3 separate regions of the Homo sapiens genome follow, and all the other regions are linked to region 2. The links are contacts of gene promoters, found by promoter capture Hi-C in human tissues and cell types (Jung and others, 2019). All regions are on one chromosome and are shown on one strand. Each heading gives the region's core, a stretch centred on a gene start or on the middle of the fragment in contact. The rest is flanking DNA. Distances are from core to core; before and after follow the strand shown. Region 1 overlaps NSD1 (nuclear receptor binding SET domain protein 1). Region 2 holds the start of ZNF346 (zinc finger protein 346). Region 3 has its middle 45 kb from the start of LINC01574.

Region 1 (4,061 bases), core at 1,459-3,958, 260 kb after region 2:
GGCATGAGCTGCCACTCCTGGCCTTTAAATTGTTACTTTAAATGTCATAAAATATCCATACCAAGATTAGATTAAAAAAAGAACAAAACGAAAAAAGTCATAAACTGTTAATCCTTACAAATGATTACAACTTCTGAAATTAAGAATTTCAAAACCTATAATTGGATCTAAATGAGTCTCACAATGTATGTGAAAATATATTCTTGGAACATAGTCGTTAGGCCTCAGAAATGGAAAATAATTCTATTCACATAGTCCTGAGGGTCAGATAACAGCAAGGTAGGCATTTTAGAGTTAACATATTAACCATATTGAGCTACTGAGAGAGCAGTTTCCTGTGAGTGATCTCATCAAGAACTTAGAGGCCAACTTCTTTACTCCATTTTTTTTTTTTTTTTTAATAAACATTTCCAGGAAAAGGATCTAGAGCAGGCATTGGCAAACTATGGTTCATGGGCAAATGTGGTCTACTGCCTATTCTTGTAATACTCTTGAACTACAGGTTGTTTTTGTATTTTTTAGTGATTGGCAAAAAAGAGATTTTGTGACACATAAAGATGATATGAAATTCAACTTTCAATCAGTATCCAGAAAATTTTATTGGAATACAGGCATGCTTCTTCATTTACATATTACATATGGCTGCTTTTATATTACAGTGGCAGAGTCGAGCTACATGTGGAGATCTATGGCCTGCAAAGCCTGAAGTGTTTACTTTCTGACCCTTTACAGAAAAAGTTACTTAACTCCTGATCTATAGTGAGATTTACTTAGAATTACATATCCATGTCTTTGTTCTTAACCATGTGGGATTTGTTTTGGTTTGCTTTTGGTTTACGATGTGATAAGTACAAAACTTATTTTTGGATTAATAACAGGTTAGATCAGTTGATAAGAAACAATGATTAAAACATATATTTTCCAGCCTGGGCAACATAGCAAAACCCAGTCTCTACAAAAAATACAAAGAAAAAAAAAAATTTGGGGTGCCTGTTGTCCCAGCTACCTGAATCACCTGAGCCTGGAAAGTCAACGCTGCAGTGAGCTGTGATTGCACTACTGCACTCCAGTCTGGGGGACAGAGTAAGACCCTGTCTCAAAACAAAAACAAATATATATTTGTAGAGAGAAAAGAAGTAGCATGAACCTTTATGTGTATTTGGGAAGGGTTCAAGTAAAAATATTTCGAATCAGAAGTGAATGTTCAAATGCCCTATTCAGGACTTGTAGTCTTGGGTGACTGAGATTAGCTGTTGTTGTCTGTCCCCTTAGAATTTGCCTTAGACATTGTAAGCCTTATGCCTTATGGCTTCCAGTTGCATGTGTTGGGGATATTTCTCCATTAGCAAGAAGTTTCCAAACCTTACCAGTGTTTTGATGAATCTAGGAACAGATCTGGCAGTGAGACCTACATCCATTTTCCCCACGGACAGCATCTTGCTGGAGTGTCTTGCAGGTCTATACGATCCTCCCACTGCAGCTTCCTGAGTAGCTGGAACCTCAAGCACTTGCCACCATGCCCGGCTAAGCTTTATAATTTTTTTGTAGACATAGGGTTTCATTGTGTTGCCTGGTCTGGTCTTGAACTTCTGGGCTCAAACAATCCTCCAGTCTCAGCCTCCGAAAGTGCTGGGATTACAGATGTGAGCCACTGCACCTGGCCTCCTCCTGTTAAATGTTGATAGAAAAATGGTTTGATGGCAGCATATATCCAGATTGTAGATTTCATAATATTAAAGGGGAGTGGGCAAATAATAAAATGCAAGAAATGAAAGCATTTGAAAATTTAGAGGACAGAAATGACTTTTAAGTAAGTGATTTTAGGTGTACTGGAATGAGTAATCTAGAATATTTGATATGAGAGAAACAATCATAAGGGCATTATATAAGAAAGGAAGAAAGAATTTAATATGTCTACCATGTTTAAGAGGCAGCTAGGTGCTGTACTATACATATATTTCTTATTCTTACAATAGTCTTGCAAGTAATTTATTCAAAATCACACAGTTCCTGAACAGTCAAAATTTTTTGTGCGGTTTGTGTCTTAGAAGACTAAATTTGACTGTTCCCACTGAAATAATATGAAATGAGGGGAGATACATTCTCATGCACAAATCCATTATTGTACTGGAACATCTATTGTCTTTCCTTATTGTTGCTAGTATTTGTTAAAACCTCTACATTAATGGCTTTGGTGTCACAATAACTGTTTGACCTTCATGTTTTAACTCACCAAACTTTCACTGTGTTTTTGAGCACTAGCACCACTTCTAAATTAATCCATGAGTGACATTGCTATAGTCCTTTTAAAAGATTTTAAATTATAAGCTGGGTGTGGTGATACCTGCCTGTAGTCCCAACTACTTGTGAGGCTGATGCAGGAAGCATAGAGGAACTCAAATTACACACAGATGATTTCATGCCATTTATTTGCCACTTAAGAACAGTGCTTTTGCCAGGTGTGGTGGCTCACACCTATAATCCCAGCACTTTCAGAGACCGAGGCGGGCAGATCACCTGAGGTCAGGAGATCACAAGGTCAGGAGATCGAGACCAGCCTGGCCAACATAGTGAAACTCCATCTTTCCTAAAAATACAAAAATTAGCCGGGCTTGGTGGTGTGTGCCTATAGTCCCAGCTACCTGGGAGGCTGAGGCAGTAGAATGGCTAGAACCCAGGAGGCAGAGGTTGCAGTCAGCCAAGATCCCGCCACTGCACTGCAGCCTGGGCAACAGAGCTAGACTCCCTCTCAAAAAAAGGAAGGAAGAATAATGCCTATTTTTTTGTAGCAGCAAATGTGACACCAACATGTGGCAATAGCAGAAACCTAGTTTATAGTTCACCTGGCTTATCAGCTTTGAAAATTTTTTTTTTTTTTTTTTTTTTTTTTTTGAGACGGAGTCTCGCCCTGTCACCCAGGCTGGAGTGCAGTCACGCGATCTCTGCAAGCTCCGCTGCCTCCCAGTTTCACACCATTCTCCTGCCTCAGCCTCCTGAGTAGCTGGGACTACAGGTGCCCGCCACCACGCCTGGCTAATTTTTTTGTATTTTGAGTAGAGACGGGGTTTCACCGTGTTAGCCAGGATGGTCTTGATTTCCTGACCTCGTGATCCACCTGCCTCGGCCTCCCAAAGTGCTGGGATTACAGGTGTGAGCCACCAGGCGCGGCTGAAATTATTTTTTAAAATGAATTTCAAAAAAATTTTTAAAGTTCATATTTTATTTTATTTTATTTTATTTTATTTTATTTTATTTTATTTTATTTTATTTTTTGTGACCGAGAGACCGAGTCTCACTCTGTTGCCCAGGCTGGAGTGCAGTGGCACGACCTAGGCTCACTGCAAGCTCAGCCTCCCAAGTAGCTGGGACTACAGGCGCCCACCACCACACCTGTCTAATTTTTTGTATTTTTAGTAGAGACGGGGTTTCACCGTGTTAGCCAGGATGGTCTCAATCTCCTGACCTCGTAATCCACCTGCCTCGGCCTCCCAAAGTGCTGGGATTACAGGCGTGAGCCACCGTACCTGGCTCGTATTTTATTTTTTTGAGATGGAATCTCAACATATCGGCCAGGCTGGAGTGCAGTGGTGAAATCTTGTCTCACTGCAACCTCCGCCTCCTGGGTTCAAGCAATTCTTGTGGAGTTCATATTTTGTATGTCAAGTGAGGCTCTGTTTTTATATGAAACTAAGTGTTGATAGTTCAAAATCATGGGAAATGTGGCTGCAACTTCAAGGAAAAAAAGTTTGCCTTTTTCAGGACGTGAATTGTCTTCTGCTGACTTGTTTTATGCGGTGTACTTTGTGTTACTTTTCCAGGTAAACCGTCCTATTGGCAGGGTACAGATCTTCACTGCAGACTTATCTGAAATACCCCGTTGCAACTGTAAAGCTACTGATGAGAACCCCTGTGGGATAGACTCTGAATGCATCAACCGCATGCTGCTCTATGAGTGCCACCCCACAGTGTGTCCTGCCGGAGGGCGCTGTCAAAACCAGTGCTTTTCCAAGCGCCAATATCCAGAGGTTGAAATTTTCCGCACATTACAGCGGGGTTGGGGT
Region 2 (4,224 bases), core at 783-3,282:
CTCGTGATCCACCTGCCTCGGCCTCCCAAAGTGCTGGATTACAGGCATGAGCCACTGCGCCAGGCCTACTGTTAACTTTCTTATTGTACTCTCCTCCACTACAATAAAAAATACTTTACTACAGCTTCCCTGTCTTGTTCACCACTATATTTCCATGCTCAAAATATCATCTAGCTCATAGTAAATTCTCCATAAGTATTTGAAAAAATGAGGTTGAAATAAGCTAGTAATATTAAAAGCTTCATTCATTAAACAAATGTTTTGTATATACCTAGGAGGGTCCAGGTTCTATTTCAAAGTGCTGGAGATTCAGGTGCAATGACAAGAGACAAAAGGCTACGCAAGGTGGCATGTGCCTGTAATCTCAGCATTTTGGGAGCCCGAGGCAGGCAGATTATGAGATCAGGAGTTTGAGATCAGCCTAGCTAACATAGTGAAACCCCGTCTCTACCAAAAATATAAAAATTAGCTGGGTGCCGTGGCATGTGCCTGTAATCCCAGCTACTCAGGAGGCTGAGGCTGGAGAATTGCTTGAACCCGGGAGACGGAAGCTGCAGTGAGCCGAGATCGCGTCACTGCACTCCAACCTGGCGACAGAGCAAAACTCTGCCTCAAAAACAATTTAAAAAAAGAAAGAAAAGAAAAGAGACAAAAATCCCTGCCTTCCTGGGGCTTGCCTTCTAGTCGGGAGACAGACAATAAGCAAGATAAAAGGTAAAATATAAAAGAAATAAAGCAGGAAAGAAGGACATGAAGTGTGTGTGGAAAAGTAACATTTTAGATGGGATAGCCAGACAAGGTATTTTAGATAGAGTAGCCAGAGAAGGAAGTGGGAGACTGAGCCATGAAGATATATGAGAGAAATTCACCCCAGGAGGCCTGGATAACTGGGACAGGAATTAAGGAGTTGGGGACTGAGTAACACATCAGGATCAGGGAGGTTAAGGGAAGTCAGATTGTACAGGGCCTTGTTGGTCGAAGTAAGGACTTTGGCTTTTTTTTTTTTTAGTCGGAGTTTCGCTCTTGTTGCCCAGGCTGGGGTGCAATGGCGCCAGCTCGGCTCACAGCAACCTCTGCCTCCCGGGTTCAAGCCATTCTCCTGGCTCAGCCTCCGAGTAGATGGGATTACAGGCATGTGCCACCACACCCGTCTAATTTTGTATTTTTAGTAGAGACGGGGTTTCTCCATGTTGGTCAGGCTGGTCTCGAACTCCGGACCTCAGGTGATCCGCCCCCCCTTAGCCTCCCAAAGTGCTGGGATTACAGGCGTGAGCCACCGCGCCTGGCCGGACTTTGGCTTTTACTAAGAGTGAGATGGGAAGCTGTTGGAGGATTTGAGAACCTAAGCGTCATGATCTGACTTGTCATAAGAGGATTCCTGGAACTGCTGTGCTGGGAATGCCAGTGAGGTTGCTACTACAATAACCTAGGCAAGAGATGGTGGCTCCCAAAGACACGGGAAGGAGCAGCTCTGGGGTTGGAAGATAAAATTTGGGGTCTGACAGCTACATTGGAGAAGCCTATTAGCCATTCGAGTGAACTGTGGAAGAGGCAACTGGATGTATACAGGTCCGGAGTCTCGGGGAAGATCAGAGCTGGGAGCTGGCACTTGGAACTCAACAAATAGTATGTATTATTAGCAGTAATATGGAACCTTAGCTGTACTACTACTTACTAGTAGCGAGCTCTTGAGTTAACCATTTTTAGGTTCTGGGCCTCAGTTTCCCTGTGAATGAAATGGCGAAAACACTCCCACATAACGGGACCTTGAGAACGAAATGAAAAGTATCAAGGGCTGACCGTGAGCAAGGTGAGAGCCATGAGCCAAAACCACACGAGCCTCTCCGGGAGGGGGGGGTCACTGCTGCGGAATCAGCGACAGGTTTCCGAATCCACGGCACACGCTCTGAGGTACCAGAGGTAGCAAAGCAAAATAAGCGCGGGGTCCCGCACGGCAGCGCGGGTGCAGCGCCCAAACCTCGCGAGATTTGTTGGCTGGGCCAAGTACCACCCACCAAATCTCGCGATACCTAGGCGCCTGAGAGGCTCTCTACCGGTGAGGGTTTGCGGGGAAGATGGAGTATCCCGCGCCGGCCACGGTGCAGGCCGCGGACGGCGGAGCGGCCGGGCCTTACAGCAGCTCGGAGTTGCTGGAGGGCCAGGAGCCGGACGGGGTGCGCTTTGACCGCGAGAGGGCGCGCCGCCTGTGGGAAGCCGTGTCCGGTGCCCAGCCGGTGGGTAGAGAGGAAGGTGAGTCGGGGGCTTTGGAGGCAGAAAGCCCCTCGCCCGCTGCGCGGCTCGCGGGGAACTGCGGAAGCGCCGACGGTCACACCCCCTGGCCCGCCTCCTTGCGTGCTGCGCCCCGGGACCCCCAGACTTGTGCTCCCCATCCGGGCGCGGGCACCCCAAGAATCGGGCCCCCAGCGCGCTGAGGGTGAAGGGCCGCTCACGCTCAGGCCCTGGGTTTTCCTCCTCCTCCTTCATCATTCACTACAGCGCAGTTTTTCCCACATTCGAGGACTGTCATCCCTATACTCGTCCTGTCGGAGACCTACAGTCTTTGCCATCCCGGTAAGCCAAGCCGAGTGCCCCTCACCACTCCTTGACTCCCCATCGTCCCAATCTCCAGATTTCCTCCTAGGGCCTCTCGCCTCCCTTCTCTCAAGCCCCACACTTCCGAGGGCTCTGGAAGGCCTTCTCCTTACCCCCTGGGTTCCTCCTGGTCTTGATGACTGAGCCCTGGCTTACCCGTTTTTAGCTCTCTGGCCTCTACTTGCTGGGTCCCTTATTCTAAGGTGGGGACAAGGAGCCTGAGAAACTGGTCTGGGTTTGCTTTGGCTCCAGCTTCTTTGTGTCCTACACTTGACCCAAAGTTGCTGAGAACAGTGTATGCAAAGCCACGTTAGGGGTCACTCCTGGGCCGAAGCGCCCCAGCTTGCTCTGCACTTGACCTGAGACTGGGTAAGATGGGATGAAAGAAAGAGAAGGATGGAAAAGAGCTGTCCTGACCTGCTTGTGTGACTCCCTTCACTGTCCTTTACAGAGCCAGCTGCTTGATGCTAACCCAGATGTACAAGAACTCTATCTGGGCTTCTCTGCTAACCTTGTCAGGTATCTGGAGGGAAATCAGATTTCTCCAGTGATTTGTTTGCTTGCTGAGCAGACTTGTCTTCGAAAGTTTAATATGCTATTTGTGAACTGACTGCCCTGGATAAAATTGGATAAAATTGAAATTTTGACCATATCTAAGGAAGGTACACAGACCTATACCCTGGTATATACTTCTCCAATTTAAAAACAAGTCTAGCCTGTCTCCTAAGTTTATATATATATATAATGTATATTATATATAAAAAAGAAGGAGACAGGGCCCCAGAAATGGTGTGTGTGTATGCGTATATATAATATACACACACATAAATGTATATATATAATATATACACACATAAATCTGTATATATATTTTTATATACACTTGTAAGTATTTTATGTATACACACACACACACACACACACTATTTCTGGGGCCCTCTCTCCTTTTTTTTTTTTTTTTTTTTGAGAGAGTCTCACTCTGTCACCCAGGTTGGAGTGCAGTGGCACAATCACACTGCAACCTCCGCCTCCTGGGTTCAAGCAATTCTATACTGCCTCAGCCTCCGGAGTAGCTGGGATTACAGGCTGCTGCCATGACGCTCAGCTGATTTTTGTATTTTTAGTAGAGATGGGGTTTCACCATGTTGGCCAGGCTGTTCTCGAACTCCTGACCTCAAGTGATCTGCCCGCCTTGACCTCCCAAAGTGCTGGGATTACAGGCATGAGCCACCGCACCCGGCTCTCCTACTTTCACACTTGTTTGGTAGTTTCCTCCCCTACCCCAATTTTCCTTTCATTAACTTGACAAACACTCACTGATGCCTGCTCTGGACCCGGAACTGGTTGAGCTTCAGAGCTGGAGTATCAGAGGAAGATACTGCCCTTGCCCTGGAAAGGCTTGCAGTCTAGTCCAGGAAGCAGACACCAAAACAGTTCCAGTGTAATGTAAAGGATGCAGTGCTGAGGAATGTTTTAAGAGTTGGAGGTGCACAAGAAGAAAGTGACCTTTGCCCTGGATCTTGAAGCAGAAAACCACTGTGCTCTGAAAAGTGAACTGTCTGCTATGTGTATATGAGTGTATAGTGGCACTGTTATGACCCATTTCATTTCCCTGTTCTCACTTCTCCCACA
Region 3 (4,219 bases), core at 486-2,985, 320 kb before region 2:
CCTAGTCCCCCAGCAGGGGTCTGCGGGGTCTCTGGGTCTGTGGTGTCTGTTCCCCAGCAGAGGCAGGCAGCAAGGCCCCAAACCTGGTTTCCATACAAGGCTTACAACTCTTCCCCTAACTGTGCCCATTTGTGATTGATGCCAGTTTAGGATTCACCAAGGCTCTGTTCCTCGGTGCTCCTGAAAAATGTGGAAACCTTTCTATTTGTACAACCCATCTGTAAACTAGGGCTAAGCCACGTCCTTCAGCTCTCTCAAGGGTTTCTTGATGGATATTGAGTGAAAAATAATGTAGTTAATGTGTTCTGAGGAACTCAGGGAAAGCTGCTGCGAGCCCATGGTGCCACTAAATGATCATTGCCCTGGGCCCTGGGAGGGGCCATTCTGGGGGCTGGACTGGGGAAGGCAGGGTCGGGGTGGCAGTGGTGCTTCGATCTGGAATGACACTTGCTCACTTGTGGAGCAGGCAAAAGCTGGGAGGCCCCTAGTGATGCCCAGTCATGGGGAGCAAGGATGTTCCCTGGGCAGGTGGTGGGCGGGGACATGTGGCATTGTGGGGGACTCCAGAGGGAACAAGGAAGCAGGCATTAGCCTGAGGTTTGGAGGTCACCCCCAACCTGGAGGGGCCTGGGGAATGGCACTCACAGGCCAGGGACTGGTCCTCAGCAGAGAAAGGGCAGGTTTTCAAATGGAAGGTTCACCTGCAGAGAACACGGAGTTGCTCCAAGCACCAACGTCTCCCATTTAGATGACGGGGGGGAGCCCCAGGTGCCTCTGTAATCCACTCCTGCCCCTGCTCCACCCAGTCTCCACGCAGCAGGCTGAGCGATGCTCTGTGGTGCTGAGCAAACCTCCTCCTCCCCTCTCAACCCTGCCCAAGATTTCCCGTGCTCCTGAACCCACAGACTCTTTTTCATGCTCTGCAGGGGCCCACCAGGTCCAGCCTCAGCGTTTCTTTCTACCTCACTTCTTCCACCTTCTCCTGGCACACCTCCTTCCTACCACAATGCCTTCTATGTGTTCCTAAACCGACCATGCTCACTCCCACCACACAGCCTTTGCATTTGCCGTTCTCTCTGCCTGGAATCTTCTTCCCGCAGCTCTCTGCATGGCTGACCCTCCCTTGGAGAGATCCGCTCTTCCCTATCTGCCCTCTCTTCCTCTAAAACAAACTCTTCCCCATCACTGCCATCATCCGGTTGCATTTTCATCATTGTGTTTAAGACCATGTAAGAGGATATGATTTGATTCCTTGTCCATTGCCTATCCTCCCACATGGGCCCAGCCCAGGGCACAGCCTGCACACCTGTGTCCTTTTCTCGCTGCAGCACCTGGAACACAGCAGGTGCTCAGTCATGCATTGGAAGGAGGCAGCCTTAGTTTGCATCCCCCTGGAAGCGAACCCTGAGACAAGGTTTCCCATACAAGTAGTTAATTTGGGAGGTGGTAGGGGAATGGGAAAGGGAAAGGAGCAGCCAGGAGAGGGAGCGCTCTCAGTGAGTTCCAACTGTGGGCAACCACAGCTCCATCCTGCAGGGCTGGGCTCAGTGTGGACAGCGTGCCTGAGAGTACCCCACACAAGGGGAGGGTTATGGGCACCTAGACACCAGCTCCTATCAGTTACTGGCTGATGGCCTCTCTCGGGGGGCCCTATTTTCCAGCACTCTGGCCCGTGGCAACATGGGCAGAGTGGCATCCAGATGGCAGAGAAAGGTCTCGGGCAAAGAAATGTGGTCGCAGGCGCTGGTGGCTGGAGGTTGGGCTGGCATACACTGCAGTGGGCACCTACATTGCCTGCTATGGGGGAAGGCACCAAAATGGGCAGAAGATGGGGCCTGGGCATCAGGCACAACCCAAACACAGTTACCCACACTTGGGTCCAAGATCAGGGCCTGACTCAGTGGGTGATGATGCGCAGCCTTTGCTTGCCCTGGGCTGAGATGCCTTAGGCGCAGGTAACCAATACAACTCAACCAATACAGCTCAGGAGAGGATGAGAGAGGCCCAGCACAGCAGCCTTGGGAGGGAAGCTGTGGGTTGGACAAGGCAGGGCCTGACAGAGGCAGTCTTGAAAGGAGTGGCTTAGCTTTTGATCTGCAAAGAGACCTGAGCCCTGGCAGATGGTTTTCTGGCCTCCTCAGGTTTCCAGCTCTCCCAGCTGCCTCCGGAGGCAAGTCTGGGGCAGGAGGAGTTTGGAGAAGCTGGCTGGGGGGAGACCTCTGCTCCTCGGCTGCAGGTTTGCATTCTCTTTGGCAGCTAATTACTTAGGATGAATGATTCTGACTCAGATGGAAGCCCCCTCCTCCAGCACCCCTCCCTCCAGCTGGGACAGAACAGGTGGTGGAGGGAGCAGAGGGCTCCGGCGTCACCGGCACTGCTGCTTGCCGGGCCATTTATCACTGGGGGTGTTTATACCCCACCTGGGGCCAGAGCCCGAGCAGAACAGGTGGTGCGTTGAGGAAGGGAGTGAGGAGGTGATGGGAATGAACTCTTCTGGCACCAGCTCCAAGGGGCCCTGGGGCTTGCCGGAGGTGGCTGAAAAGATAGGAACTAAAGCATCAGAGGAAACAGAACAGGACCTACTGCAGGAGGTGTTTCAACTTTCCCTGCATTTGGAAGATTTTGCAGGTGAAGGAGATTAACTCAGATTAAGAAGATTGGCTTTTGGTGTTTTGCTTGGGGTGGGGCTGGGTAGAAAACAGCCTGGACTGGGAGCCTTTGCTGATGGCTGTGGTGTAAATACTCTCACCCTGGCTGACTCAAGCTACTAATTGTTGAACAACTAAAGCCATGAATCTTGAATATTTAACAGTTGGCTCCTAGAAGCTGGCAGGAGCCGGCCCAGGCCTGTGTGAAGCTGTTCAGGCAGAGCATCTAACATATTTATTCACTGGTTCGGTAAGACATCACAGGGCACCCTCTGCGTCTGGAGCCATGTTTTAGGGACACCAAGCAGACCCCATCCCAAGCCCACAGATGCGGGACGAGGTCATCTCAGGGTGCGATGGGGCTACTGTGGCAGCAGCTTTACAGGACGATGTGTGGGGGACGCGGCCTTGTGGCCTCTGTGCATCTGGACAGTGAGTTTATGGAGGAGATCTAAACCCGCCTCTGTCCTTATCAGGCAGTGCGGCCACCCTGTGCGCCCACAGTGAACACAGAAGAGTGAACACTTGGGTATTTTCTGGCTCGGCCGTTCTACTGGGTGTCACACATTCCTCCTTTATTCCTTCCCTGCTGTCTCCCGCTGCCTCAGCACTCGGCCTGGGTACCTTCCATGGGCATTGCCAAGACCCAAGGCCTCCCTGGAGACCAGTTCTGTCTGATTTCTGGAGGCCATGTGACAGTGGAGCATGGCTCAGTGGGAACAGGCAGCCCACGGGCCACATTTTCCCCACAGGCAAACCCTTCCCTCCTTCACTGTGTACCTGGGCAGTCCCGGATCCCAGGAACCGCCAGTGGCGGGGAGGGCTTCATGCCCAGGGTGGAATCTTACCTGGCCCTCTTCCTGCCTGGGGATCAGAGCTCAAACTCCTACGCTCTCTAAACCCTGGGGTTTAATTAAGAAAATATGGAGGTCCTCTGGGAGCCATAGAGGGCTCTGCAGGTATTTATTTATTTATTTATTTATTTATTTATTTATTTACTTGAGACGGAGTCTCACTCTGTTGCCCAGGCTGGAGTGCAGTGGTGCAATCTCTGCTCACTGCAACCTCCACCTCCCAGGTTCAAGCAATTCTCCTGCCTCAGCCTCTCATGTAGTTGGGATTACAAGCAGGCACAGGCCACTATGCCCAGCTAATTTTTTCATTTTTTTGTTTGTTTGTTTCAGTAGACACAGGGTTTCGCCATGCTGGCCAGGCTGGTATCGAACTCCTGACTTCAGGTGATCCACCTGCCTTGGCCTCCCAAAGTGCTGGGATTACAGGCGTGAGCCACCACACCTGGCCTCTGCAGGTATTTTAAACACCAGGGTTGACCTTATCTTGTTGGTCCGGCTGATCTATCCACTTCCCAAGTTTCCACCCAGGAAGGGGCCTGGGTGGCCCATGCCCTCGTCACCTCTGGGCAGAGTGGGTGTGGCACCGGCGCCAGCTGCGCTCCACCACACATACATGGCTTCATGCTATTTTCTCTTGCACCTGAATCTTTAAATCATCCGTGTCTCTGGGCGAGCCGAGGCTGCGGCGGGAGCTGTTAATAATAGACACAAGCGACT

What was found. The method cuts DNA at HindIII sites, captures the fragments that hold promoters and counts their contacts. A contact is called where the count stands out against the background at its distance.
Region 1: a contact is called between a fragment that was not itself captured here and the fragment with the promoter of ZNF346 in region 2, in 1 of the 25 tissues and cell types used here (IMR-90 fibroblasts).
Region 3: a fragment that was not itself captured here is called in contact with the fragment with the promoter of ZNF346 in region 2 in 1 of the 25 tissues and cell types used here (dorsolateral prefrontal cortex).

Annotation. Positions count from the first base shown.
Region 1 is chr5:177,276,747-177,280,807 of GRCh38, forward strand. It overlaps NSD1 (nuclear receptor binding SET domain protein 1), which reads left to right. Exons shown (of 23, transcript NM_022455.5): 18 at 3,819-4,061. Among named protein-coding and RNA genes, the nearest start is that of RAB24, 25 kb to the right of the region's middle. The HindIII fragment of the contact is 7,633 bases long and covers 1-4,061 here.
Region 2 is chr5:177,020,664-177,024,887 of GRCh38, forward strand. It overlaps ZNF346 (zinc finger protein 346), which reads left to right and starts at 2,033. Exons shown (of 7, transcript NM_012279.4): 1 at 2,033-2,250. The coding sequence starts at 2,076. It also overlaps a transcript of UIMC1 not described here. RefSeq lists enhancers at 1,737-2,274, 1,798-1,847, 2,275-2,811 and a silencer at 2,248-2,397. The HindIII fragment of the contact is 9,260 bases long and covers 1-4,224 here.
Region 3 is chr5:176,696,019-176,700,237 of GRCh38, forward strand. No RefSeq gene overlaps it. Among named protein-coding and RNA genes, the nearest start is that of LINC01574, 45 kb to the right of the region's middle. RefSeq lists enhancers at 1,290-2,113, 3,760-4,219. The HindIII fragment of the contact is 6,715 bases long and covers 1-4,219 here.